Regions from separate parts of the Homo sapiens genome. Here region 2 is linked to region 1. Evidence: promoter capture Hi-C in 16 types of primary human blood cells and fetal thymus (Javierre and others, 2016). All regions are on one chromosome and are shown on one strand. The core of a region is centred on a gene start or on the middle of the fragment in contact, and the rest is flanking DNA. Distances in the headings are between cores, read along the strand shown. Region 1 holds the start of TRAF5 (TNF receptor associated factor 5). Region 2 has its middle 28 kb from the start of RD3.

The links. The method cuts DNA at HindIII sites, captures the fragments that hold promoters and counts their contacts. A CHiCAGO score of 5 or more calls a contact.
Region 2: a contact is called between a fragment that was not itself captured here and the fragment with the promoter of TRAF5 in region 1, in 1 of 17 cell types (total B cells). The highest score is 5.2, in total B cells.

The regions. Positions count from the first base shown.
Region 1 is chr1:211,322,610-211,329,059 of GRCh38, reverse strand. TRAF5 (TNF receptor associated factor 5) reads right to left here and starts at 2,227. Exons shown (of 11, transcript NM_001033910.3): 1 at 2,171-2,227. RefSeq lists a silencer at 1,933-2,302 and enhancers at 2,363-2,752, 3,022-3,523. The HindIII fragment of the contact is 10,339 bases long and covers 1-6,450 here.
Region 2 is chr1:211,516,784-211,523,355 of GRCh38, reverse strand. No RefSeq gene overlaps it. Among named protein-coding and RNA genes, the nearest start is that of RD3, 28 kb to the right of the region's middle. RefSeq lists an enhancer at 4,409-4,458. The HindIII fragment of the contact is 635 bases long and covers 4,731-5,365 here.

The DNA.
Region 1 (6,450 bases), core at 978-3,477:
AATCTGGGTCCCCTTGCTGACCCCTCAGACGGAGGAAGAGGTGGGCAGATATGGCTCTCTGAGAAGCCAGGGTGAGGGGCCTGGAGCAGGGGAACAAGACACCTCAATGCTCTGATCCTGGTCCAGCAGTGGAGCTCAGGGAGCTATTTACCGCCTCAGTGCTTCACCCTCACAATCTGAGAGATGTAGAGAATAAGCCTGCTCTAACTCATGAGGGCGTCATGGAGGACGAAATGAGAACAAAACGACAAGAACAAAGAGAAAATGCTTTGCAAAGGAACGAGCTTTACAAACAAATAATTATTTTTCCTTCAAGGTCCTCCCCAGTAAAGCTGAGCTAATCAGAGGAGGTTTGTCTAAGTACTGAGGTGCCTTTCCCACTGCAAGCCTAACAAGACTGACTCTGAGGCATCTAGCTCCCCGACTGTGCAAATCATCCCCACTGAAACATCCCAGTCCCTATCGTCAGGACGTTCAGTGGACGGCAGCTCTTTTCCACACTCTTTCCATCGCCCTACTACCCAAGTCCAGCGGGCTTGCTGCTGACAGAGGGAAATACCACCATCCTACCCTGCCCGTCACAACAGGCCTCTCAGCCCAGAGGCCGTGGGAGAAGTCGCCTTCTCCATCACTTCCCATGTTCCAGATGCTGGCTCAGACACTTTCTCCTGCCTCTGTCCAGGAGCCAGGGATCTGAGAGGTGATCCATTCCATAGAGTTACAACAAAAACAGTAACTGTAACAAAATCAAAAACCTTTACAGAAGCTAGGCGTTTTCCACTTCCATCTTACATCCATCGTTCCTGCAGCAATTTCTGTCTTTCTAGTTCAAATTAGAGTTAGGGATGGAAGTGTTTCCACCCAAACCATCAATTACATTAACACCCCTGTTTTCAGCTTTGTGAGTACATAAGGCAGAGCAGCTGCACTGGGATTTGAGAGTTCCTAGCCCAGCCTTTTGCTGCCTAAAATTATCTCGCACACACCCAAAACTGTTCTATTTCCAGAAATGGTTCAACTAATTTCTTTGCATCTCAGGTCTTCCAGAGCCCTTTTAAAATGCAAGTATCTCTGGAGGAAATAACCATATTCCACTGGCCCCAGCCCAGTTCTCACACAGCACCTGCCCAATAAATATTTACAGAATTAAACTGGTTACCAGATGCCTATCCTCACAGGAGGTGGGTCAGAGCCCAAGGCTATGGAGGGTGGGGGCTGCAGGGGCAGCCCTGGCAGGGAGCCTCGCCTGGTTTCACCAACCTCAATGCTCGCCTGAGGCAGCTCTGCCTGCCACAGCGAGATAACTGAGTTCTCATGAAAGTAAATCTGAAATACCCAAATATGGAAACTTAGCAGAAGGAGGCCGAATGAGCAGAGAAAGTCGGCCAGCCAGAGTGGCCCAGTGGGACCCGCAGCAAGAGCGTGGCCCCGAAAATTCTCAGAACCACCAAGACCCTGCAGAACAGGAACAAAGTGGAGACCATCTGGTACGGAGAACTCAGAATCTGCGAATTCTCTGGGTGCCTCTGGGCAACTCCTTCCACCTCTCGGAGCTTTGGTTTGCGTCAAGGTTCCTTAGAGCTCGCCTTCTGGGGGAGGGGGGTAGCTGCTTTCTAAAGGAAGACGCGCAAACGAACAGCTGGTAGAGGCTTCCATTCCTTGCAATCCTGAAGTTTCATTCTGGAGTTGCTTTGATTGGAAAGCCCTGCAAAGGTGGAGAGGGTGCCTTCGGGTGCGGAAGGGGGCCAGGGCCTGGTTTGCAGTGCGGATGTGCGGGACGTGCCTGAAAGTCCTCCCCGCCAGTGCACCCCGACGGAACCTGGCCCCTCCGGTCCACAGCCGCCCTCTGGACCAGCTCCCCAGCTTTGGACCCCCAGTCTCCGCCCTCGCCACACCTCTCCCCGGCTAAGAAACCCGCTCCGCACCGCTCCCGCTGTCCCCGGGCCGTCGGCGGTCACCTGCCCCGCCGGTCTCCCGCAAGCCCGGGCCCCTCCGCCTCCCCCGGCCCAGCCGCCGCCTCGCGCCCTCCCCGCCGGTCGGGGACCGGCCGGACGCCAGCAGGCGCTTTCGGTTTCAAAGTAACTGGGACGAGATGAAAAGCGCTCGTCGGTGTCCCCACCCCGGCCCTTCCGTCGCGAGGGTGCCCAGGGCGGCGACCCGCCGGACTCACGTGGGGCTCGGCGCGCGGGCTCCGCGAGGCCGGTCTGCAGGCGCGGCTGCTGCTCCTGGCTGCGGCCGGCGGCGGCGGCGAAGCGGAGGCGAGGCCTGGGGCGGGGCCGGGGCGCGGGCGGAGGGGCGCGGGCGGGCGCAGGGGAAGAGCGGACGCGCAGGAAGGGGTCGGGAGGAGGCTGAGACCGTCATCCAGGCGGTTGGAAAGCTAACCTACCCGCTTCAGAACCGTTAGTATCTACAAGTCCAGTCATCTGATTTCCCTCACGTGCGTCTGAATTGTGGCCGTCTTGCTCTTCCGTCAGGCACAACAAGGCTCAGCCCGTCCTCTCCTGTGTTGACCCATTTGCTCAAGGCCTTGCTTGAGATCTGGCTCAAATCAGTCCTTCCTGGACTTTCCTTCAGGGTAGCACAAATTTGCCAGCCCTCCTCTTGCTGTTGGCCTAACACCAGCAATCTCTGAGAGTTGTAGAGCTCCCCGGTTGGCTTCCCAAACATCTCCTGTGGTCCTCAAAACAAGCTGGTGAAGTAGGCCTGGTCATCCCCATTTTACAGATGAGCTGTCTGAGGGCCAGAGCAGCAACGTGGAGTGACGTACCCAAGGTTAGACACGCTCAGCAAGCTCTGCAGCTGGAACTTGAATCCAGGTCTGCTGTCTGCCTGTCTCTCTCCCTCTCTCTCTCTCTATACGTATTTTTTATTTTATTTTATTTTTTGAGACGGAGTCTCGCTCTCACGCCAGGCTGGAGTGCGGTGACGCGATCTCGGCTCACTGCAACCCTGGCCTCCCAGGTTCAAGCAATTCTCCTGCCTCAGCCTCCCGAGTAGCTGGGATTACAAGCATGTGCCACCACGCCGGGCTAATTTTTGTACTTTTAGTAGAGACGGGGTTTCACCATGTTGGTCAGGCTGGTCTCATCTCTTGACCTTGTGATCCGCCTGCCTTGCCCTCCCAACAGGCGTGAGCCACCGCGCTTGGCCTGCGCACTCTTAGATACGGGCTCTTTCTTACAATATATTCTCTCCAAGGGCAATACATTCTATATAAATGAAATGGACCAAAATTCCAATTCTATCTAGATCCTTTACTTTCAGTTAGGCCACCGTGGGAAAAGTACTTAACTGCTCTGAGTTTCAGTTACCGTCCTCGTCAATAAAAGGGGAGAATAATACACACCTTGGGAGTCAAAAACTCAGATGTGCACAGGAGCTCGGCAGGAAACATACAGGAGGGAGGCAGAGGTTGTGGTCATGGAGAAAGGAGGGAGGCGCTGGTGCACTAAAGAGCAGGTGGAGGATCTAGTGGAGCAGCCACCACCCAGTGCCAGCCTATTGTTACCTGATCTCTTATTTCTCCAAAGAGCCAGAAATCCAGATCCAAACCTTTTTTGGTTGGTGAGTTAGATGAACCGCTCCGTGGGGGAGAGGCACTGGTGGGTGTTGCTTTGGGACTGTAGATCTGTCTCATAATCTTCTCATGAGAATTAAATGAGATGGCACTCCTGTACGCCTAACACAGAGTAGGTGCTTAGTGAACCCAAGTTCTCCTTCCTGTTCTGCCATACACTATACTTTCCCTCTCTTTTTGTGGGTGTGTATTTTTTGAGAGAGGTTCTCACTCTGTCACCCAGGCTGGAGTGCAGGGGCATGATCACAGCTCACTGCAGGCTGGATCTCCTGGGCTCAAGTAATTCTGCCGCTTCAGCCCCCAGAGTAGCTGGGACTACAGGCACACACCACTACGCCCACCTCCCCCAGCTCCTTTTTTTTTTTTTTTTTTTTTGAAGAGATGGAGACTTACTATGTTGCCCAGGCTGGTCTCAAACTCCTGGGTTTAAGCGATCCTCCCACCTCGACCTCCCAAAGTGCTGGGATTAAATGTGCAAGCCACTACGTCCCACCCGCTTTCTCTTACCATTGCCTGCTTCTTGCCTCTCTTCTCATTACTTCCAAGCATAATAAAGTTGATACTGTTTTTTAGAAGTTATATCTCCTTTCACTGGCTGGAACATCAGTGTCTAGTATGCATACATGCAGGTATGCTCAGAATCCCTGGTCCTGTCATTGACTGTAATTTGCTTCTCTCTCCTACTCCTCTCCCCACCAACTAAATAAAGCAGTCAATTGTTCCAAAAATTACATCCAAGCCTTAAATATGATGGAATAAAACCTGGGATAGAGAGGTGGATCTTTATTGTGGTGGGAAATGGGGGCCGCATAACTCGAGGGCTGCGTCTAAGTGGAAAGGGTAAAGGAATTTTAGACGGGTATTAGTCAGAAGTCAGTAACATAGTCCCAATTCCCTGTTGATCATAAAGCGGAATTTGAATCCTGTATGTACATAAATGCACATATAAAAAAACATTAAATACCTTCAAGTGATAACTAACGTTTATTAAGGTTTCTTTTTTTTTTTTTTAGATGGAATCTCGCTCTGTCACCCAGGATAGAGTGCAGTGGCGTGATCTTGGCTCACTGCAACCTCCACGTCCTGGGTTTAAACAATTCTCCCACCTCAGCCTCCCGAGTAGCTGGGACTATAGGCGTGCACCACCACACCTAGCTAATTTTTGTATTTTTAGTAGAGATGGAATTTCGCCATGTTGGCCAGGCTGGTCTCAGATTCCTGATCCCAAGTGATCCACCCACCTCGGCCTACCAAAGTGCTGGGATTATAGGCATGAGCCTCTGTGCCCGGCCTATTACGTTTTATATACCAGGTACTGTGCTCAGTGTTTTTTATATTAACTCATTTAATAATCAACTCCATTTTATAGATGGAAAATCTTATCTATTGAGCAATTTGCCCAGAATCACAAAATTCTTAGTTTGAGAGAGGCAGAATTTGAATTCTGGGAAGTCTGGTTCTGGTACTCCTAGCCACTATACCCTACCCCTCAAATAAATGACTGATGTGAATTCAAACAAAACAACTTAAAGACAAATTTTAGTACTTTTAGTGTTTTGAAAATATTCAGCATTAAGTTCAACATTATATCTAACATTGAAGAGAATCCAACCTTCAAACTAAATTCAGCTACAAAATAAGACCAGGGCTGAACTATACACTACAGTTTTATGCAGAAGAAAAGCACTAACCCTTTTATCTGTTGCTTCTAGACACCGTAAGATTGCCCCAGACGCCCGAAGACATGGATTTCAGCTGTTTAATTTGCTGTATAAATTAGGGTGAGAGACTGCAGCCCTGGCTGCCAATGTAAAGATGGTGCTGATGGAGAGGTGAGGACGCCGCCTACTGGAATAGTAGATGGATGCATTATCTTCCTCAGGCTGCTCCTCTGTGACGAGACTGATCAATGTAGTGAGTTAGCTTGCAGGGCAAAAGTTCATACTTCCCATCACCTAGAGATCAGTGAGATCAGATAAGGAGGGAAAATCCTCTCCTTGGGCCATAGATTGCGACTTTGACTCCATTGCAAGTTACAATGGAAAGTCTTTGTCTGTAAACAGAACCACACATGGAAAATGTGATATACTGTAGCAGCAAACCACTTCCAGGCAAAATGCAGATCTCAGGGTCTTGTGCACAGAGAATACTCAGCTTGCTCACTAAGTAGGTGTTGTATTGAGACAATATATGAATGACTGATCCCTCTGCTTCCATCAAATAACCTTTAGCTCAGCTCTGCCTGTCAGTGTGCTGACCACCACAAGAAGAGAGGCGGGGAGTACTGGGATGGGGCAGGGACCGATGTAAATTTTTTTAAGCCTCCCTTTGCAAAAGAACCTGTGTATGTGCATTCAGCAGCTGCACCTTTAACTTAGGAGCTTAAGAAAAAACCATGTTTCTTTTGTTCTACCTTGTTTTACTCTATTGTTATTTACTGTGTTATAGGGTCAGCACCAGTTGAAAAAAGCAGACCTGTACTGTTCCTATGGCCATATATTATGTATTTATTCCAGGGGATCCCCTGCTTGATACATAAACACACCCTTCTTTATTCCTGTTCATGGTTTAATTGTCTGATGGTCAGCCTTGGCTGGAGAAATGAGATTTTTATTGTTTTTACATTAGACCTCCTGTCTTCATTGTACACCTGGCTAAGTATGAATTCTGTCCTCTTTGACAGTTTCTTTAATAAGATTCACACATGCAATTCCTATCACTGCTAGGAAAACATTTTAACATATTAATTCTGCATAATCACCAGAAGCCATTACAATATAGATTTAAAAGTTATTGTTTAGCCTTAGGAATCATGAAGTAAGATAATAGGTTTGATTGGCACAGTTTGGTCTTGGATTTTTTAATAGGTTGGT
Region 2 (6,572 bases), core at 3,799-6,298, 190 kb before region 1:
GCTCACTGCAACCTCTGCCCCCCTAGTTCAAGCGATTCTCCCACATCAGTCTCCCAGGTAGTTGGGACTACAGGCGCCCGCCACCACGCCTGGCTAATTTTTGTGTTTTTAGTAGCGATGGGGGACGGCGGGGGGCGGGGGAGAATAGGTGGATTGGGGAGCGGGGGCCAGGGGTGGCGGATCTCACCATGTTGGCCAGGCTGGTCTCGAACTCCTAACCTCAAGTGATCCGCCCACCTCTCCCTCCCAGAGTGTTGGGATTACAGGAGTGAGCCATCCATCCCACCCAGCCTGAAAATAAACTTTTCTTCAATTTACTCTTTTTTTCTCAAAAGTAATTGCGTCATTGTTTGCTACAAACAAACAAACAAACCTTGGCTTTATTAAAGGTCACTGGTAGATGAAAGTGGTGGCTTAGAATTAGGCTCCTTGGTATAAAAGGAAGGAATTCAAACACACCTGAGCAACGGAAGTAGCTATCCATTTGCTAATGGTTTAACAAACCACTTAACAAACTACTTCTTTGGGCCTATAGCCTGGAGGGGACTCCAAATCTTCTAGCTAGAGATTCTCCTCATTATGTTAATGTATTGAACACATTGCCTTTGATAGTTCTCAAGGTTGTGATTGGTGGTGGTGAGTGGGGAGGGGGATTTGCAAAGTGTTTCAGTTATTGAAATTCATTCAACAAATATTTACTAGGCACCATCCTAGGTGTTTTGCGATAAGGGCTAAACAAGACAGGATTCCTGTACTCCTGGGGTCCTTCTTCTAATAAACTTGGAAGTTTGTAGCTAACACCAACTCCTCAGGAAACAAGCAGCCATCCGTCCCATCAAAGGTGGCAACAGCAGTGTGGTTAAGAGCCAGGTATTTTCAAGTCAGATTAAACCTGGTTTTGAATCCCAGCTGTCTGAACTCAGGCAAGTGACTTAATCTCTTTCAGGCTCTCAAGAGTGAAGTGAGAGAAACAGAACCTACTTCACAGGGTGTTTGGAAGATTAAATGAGATGAAGGATGTGAAGTGCTTTCTACTAAGACCGATACATCATAAGCCCTCGGTAAATGATAGCCACTGGCATTAATGATTTTTTTGTTTTGTTTTGTTTTTTGAGATGGAGTCTTGCTCTGTCGCCCAGGCTGGAGTGCAGTGGTGCGATCTCGGCTCACTGCGAGCTCCGCCTCCCGGGTTCACACCATTCTCCTGCCTCAGCCTCCGGAGTAGCTGGGACTACAGGCGCCCGCCACCACGCCCAGCTAATTTTTTTGTATTTTTAGTAGAGACGGGGTTTCACCACATTAGCCAGGATGGTTTCGATCTCCTGACCTCGTGATCCGCCCGCCTCGGCCTCCCAAAGTGTTGGGATTACAGGCTTGAGCCACCATGCCCGGCCAATGATCTTTGAGACAACTCAAAAGCCAAGTGTGCAGAAAAGAGGTTTTAATATGGTGAAGAGGGTGGTAATGATGGTCCAGTTCACACTTCAAAATCATTGGCACAAAGGTTTCTCAAGGGCTGGGATTGGGTTTTGTTCATTTTGCATCTCCAGTGTCTAGCATGTAATAGGTCATTAATAATGAGCCCTGGATGAATGGTTCTTAGCTCTTGGCCAGGACCCAGGAGAGGGACTAGGTGTCAAACAGTTCCAGGAAGATATTATTTCATGGGCTACTTACTCTAGCCAAGAAAGGTCAGTGGGACCTGGGACATCATCAAGAACTGGGTCATTTGTGAAATAAGCAAACACTGCATGGACACCTGATAACACATTTTTGGAAAGAGTGCAGAGAGCAGAAAGTTCAGGAGAGAGCAGGCTAGCAGCAGAGAAGGGGAGGAGTCATTTTGCAAAGGGAAAACCTTGGGGGAAGTGTCCTGGAAAGTCCGTGGCAAGAAACACCTTTGTTTCACAGTCTATGCCTTTGACCCTCAACCTGCCTCCCCATGAGCTACAGCGGCACATGCAGTTCTCTCTCCTTTTCTTAAAACAAGGATGAGGGGCCTAGGGTTTCCCATGCAAGAATAGGGCTCTGGGGTCTCAGGCTAGTCCACGACCTGACTAGGAGAGAGACAGCCAGGATCAGAACAAGAACATCCCGAAGACCAGTCTAACAGAGCCAGAAACACTCCTAAAATTGGAGGACCTCTTTCCCTGGTTTTGGGAGGAATTTAGAGAAGTTTGGGCAATATTCCATCCTCATGTGCTCACAGATTCAGAGAATGTTAGAGCTGGACAGAATTGTGGTCCAACCCCTCATTGGACACTTGAGGACGCTGAGTCCCAGAGTGGGTTAGTGATTTCACCAATGAAACACAGTGAGCTGGGATCAGAATCCACACCAGCTGGTTGATTCGCGGGTCAGTGCACACTCATACAAGTGATCTCTGAGCTCTTCACTGAGACATCCAACTGCCTAAGTGACATCTCTGTTTGGAGGTCTCAAAGATTCCCACAATTCGACATGCCTAAGGTGGAACACTTAACCTTCTCCTTAGCCTGGCTGGTTCTCTTACAGTGTTTTCTAGTTCCATGACTGGTGGTGCCACCTACCCAGTTGAGCAAGACAGGAATAAAGCAGGAGTCTCCCGACACACTCTCTCTCACTCTGCATAGCCAATCGATTACCAAGTTCTGATTTATCTTCTAAATGCATCTCCAGGCCCTCCTCTTTTCTCCATTTCCTGTACCATCACCCTATGGCAAGCTACCCTGCCCTCTGATCCCTTGACTACTGCAATAGCTGTCTGCCGACTACACTCCAGTCTGTTTAGGATCTGTCCAGCCCATTTCTCACGACGCAGCCTCAGAATCTTTACAGAACACAAAACTAGTCATGTCATACACGCATCTGCTTGGGGAAACTTCAGTGGCTCCCCTTTTTTCCCCCAACCGCTTTTATTTATTTATTTATTTTTTTGAGACAGAGTCTCGCTCTGTCACCCAGGCTGGAATGCAGTGGTACAGTGACACAATCTCAGCTTACTACAACCTCCGCCTCCCAGGTTCAAGCGATTCTCCTGCCTCAGCCTCCCGAGTAGCTGAGATTACAGGCGCATGCCACCACAACCGGCCCATTTTTTGTATTTTTAGTAGAGATGGGGTTTCACCATGTTGGCCAGGCTGGTCTCTAACTCCTGACCTCAAGTGATCCACCCACCTCAGCCTCCCAAAGTGCTGGGATTACAGGTGTGAGCCACCACACCCAGCCAATTCCCCTTGTTCTTAGGACCATGACAAAACTTAGCAATGTGACTTCAAAGGCCCTGCATCACCTGGCTCCTTTCTCTCTCTGCCACCCACTCTCACGGTGGGGGACACTGGCTCCCCCTCTCTCCACTCCAGCCATACTCTCTCCAACTACAGTGCCTTTCCCTGAAATGCTCACATCGCTCTCTTGGCCTGGTTAGCACCTTTCATCCTTTAGATTCCAGCCCACACCTCACTTCCTCAGGAAAGCCCTCCTGAGTGGACCAAACCTGCCTATGCTATGCCCTTTCAGCATCTGTGCCAGCCAGTGGTTTACACGTGTTTGGCAAGTGTTTGATGAATGACTTTGCCTCACTATGCTGTAAGCTCCAAGGAGCAGAGACAATGTCTGGTTTTGTTCATCATACCCTAAGCGCATAGTTCAGTGCCCTGCATGTTGAGAGGCACTTAAATATTTACTTATTGAACAAGTGAGTGAATGAATGCTCTGTTTTTTAAGACTTTCTCTAACAGCGACACTATGGAGAATAATTGGCACTTTTCATCCACAGATGGCCTCCTGTGCCTCTTTTAGGAAACAAGATGACAGGCTGGGTGGCGAGATGCATGTGAACACGGTAGGGCCATGAGACTTGCCTCCTAAAAGTTTCCTCTATGTTTTTGCAAAGAAGATCCCCATGTGTTGGTAAGTGGGGAGAAAAACAAATTGAAGTAATCTCTACCAGATGACCCTCTGTAGTTTGTTAAAGGTGTATGCACACATGAACCCACTGAAAAAGAGTAACAGTGGAGGGTGGCATACAGGTTACCTTCCTTCCTTTTTTCTTTCTTTCTTTTCTTTTTTAAATAAGTTTTCCATTCTGGATATGTATTTTTTGACAAAGAAATAAAAAGTATAAGAATTTTTCTCAATGTGTATATGTATATATACACATATGTATGTGTATATATATATATATATATCACAATCTCTCTCTCTCTCACACACACACACAGTTAAAAAAATGGAAGATCATGTGTTCAGACACCCGAGGATGAAAACCATATTTCCCCTCAGCCTGGGACCTTTCTGAAAGTAGAAATCATTTCACTTCCTCTCTTTATTTCTCTGAGCACCCTCCTCTCCTCATTTTGGTCACCATTATTAGTTTCAAGTGACAGAAAACCCAATTCAAAGTAACTTAGGAAATGTAGGCAGTCATAGCTTGGCCATTCCAGCCACGGTGGCTCCAGGAGCCTAAGCGATGTCCTCAGGAATTGGTCTTTCTCTGTTCCTTGGCGTGGCTCTCCCCTGGTGATGCAAGATGCCCATCAGCAGTCCCAGGCTCATGTAATCCACCAGTAGAGAGAGTTTCTCCTCCCACTAGTTCCAGCTACAGCCCTGGTGCTGATGATCTCTGTGACCAGTGTCAGAGGCTGGGGTAAAATATCTTGTGGCCAGGCCTGGCCCAGGGGCTTCCTTCTGGCAATGGGCCCTGTGGGAATCTTACTGACTACAAGTGGAAGGTTAAGAATTGGAAAGCTTTTGCCAGAATAAGGGGAAGGGATAATAGGCAGGCAAAACAAAAGGTGAGTATCATACACTGAGCACTTGGCTCTGCACACAGTAGGTGCTCACCCTAACAGGGCTGACTGGCTGGCCTCTGGCTGGAACCATCTGGGGAGAGAGGAAGTGGTGGTTTCACATCAGCTGCAGAGCCTCCACCAGGTTCAATTTTACATCTAGAGAGAGGGATTTGGAGTCCACGCAGGTCCCAGAAGGTGACAAGGTGGTAGAGAGTGATACGTGCCTCGTTGCATGGAAAACTGCCCTTGGGCTCCAAACATGGTATGCCCAGAGGCTGAGCTTGGAAATGGGTGAACCTTGGCCCAGCCTGGCTAAGAGAGCCACTCGGGGGCACATGCGTACCCTTGCCCTGCTCTCTGCGGGCTGGCCTATGGCCAGCAGGTGCCCAGTGAGAAGATTGTACTCCAAGGGATCCAGCCTTTTACACAAGTTATAAGATGAGGAAGAAACATGGCTTGTGTCTTTGGGAAGTTCTCAGCCCAGTGGGAGAACTGTAACATGACAAGACTAACCCTGTATTTGGGGGCTTCCGCCTGATGTGTCAGCCCCAGAGGGACGGCATGGTAACCCACTCTGTACCAGATTTTAAGCTTTATTCCCAAACCTGCTTTGCTTCCCTTACCAGCTCTTTTACCTTTGTCTTCCATGTTCCCAGTTCATGTTGACCACCTGGGCTGGTTCACTACCACCACACCTGGGAGTGAGAGAAGCCCACCTTCTCCCACTGGCTCAGCCACTCAATTGCCTGGAAGGCATTGTCAGGCAAGGGTGGCCTGCATCTCTACCTCAGCAAAAGCCTCCAGGAAGCCAAAATTAAAAGCGAGGCCAGACCAGGCAACAGTGGCTCACGCCTGTAATCCCAACACTTTGGGAGGCCGAGGCCGGAGGATTACTTGAGCTCAGGAGTTTGAGACCAGCCTAGGCAACATAGTGATCTGGAGTCCATCCAGGTCCCAGAAGGTGATGAGGTGGTGGAGAGTGATACTTGGAACCCATCTCAGTAAAAATCGTAATAATTTTTAAAAGAGAGAAAGAAGAGTGAGGCTGGTTCCTGCTGTACCCTGGAAGTGGTTTTTTCCAGGCGCCTCTTTTTCCAAATTATCAGTTTGAGGCTGAGAGGGCAGGTAAGGGAGAAAGTGACAGTGAGCTAGGCATGGGGAAGTGGCAGCAGGTTGAAGCAGGATCCTGAGAAGACAGCACGGAGGGGCCCTGAGCTGGCTGGGCAGGTGTGGGGCTAGGAAGCCACACCCAGCTCAGTAATTCCCAGGGAGCTTCTGGGAGAACCTGGGCTCAACAGGGAGATCACAGGGCCTGCTGAGGCCATATGGGTGAGGCCTCGCCCTTCTTCCTGCTTCCTCCACCATGCAGTTCCTGCCTCTCCTCCCCCTTCACCTTGCATCCCTCCTCCTCTGCAGCAGCCCTCCTGCTCACACAGTTTAAGAAAGGCTGGTGCTAAGCCTGTGTGCACCACAGGTGGCGTCATGGGCAGGGTCTTTCATGATTTTTCTGCTGCCACTGAGAAGACGGATCATCATCTTTCAGGCAAGTTTGTAATAAACATTTAACGAATGAATGGGTTAGTGATGAACATTCGTTATCTAATTTGAACCCTTTACCAACCCTTTGAGGTAGTCCACACAGTTCCTATTAGTGCTGTTTACAGCTGGGGAAACTGAGACTCAGAGAAATTATGTGTCATCACGTAGGTATGCAGTGACCAGCTGGACTCAGAACCCATGACCCTAGTTCTTGCACTAATGTCCACTGCCTGTCTCTTTCACCCACCTGCACCCTCACAG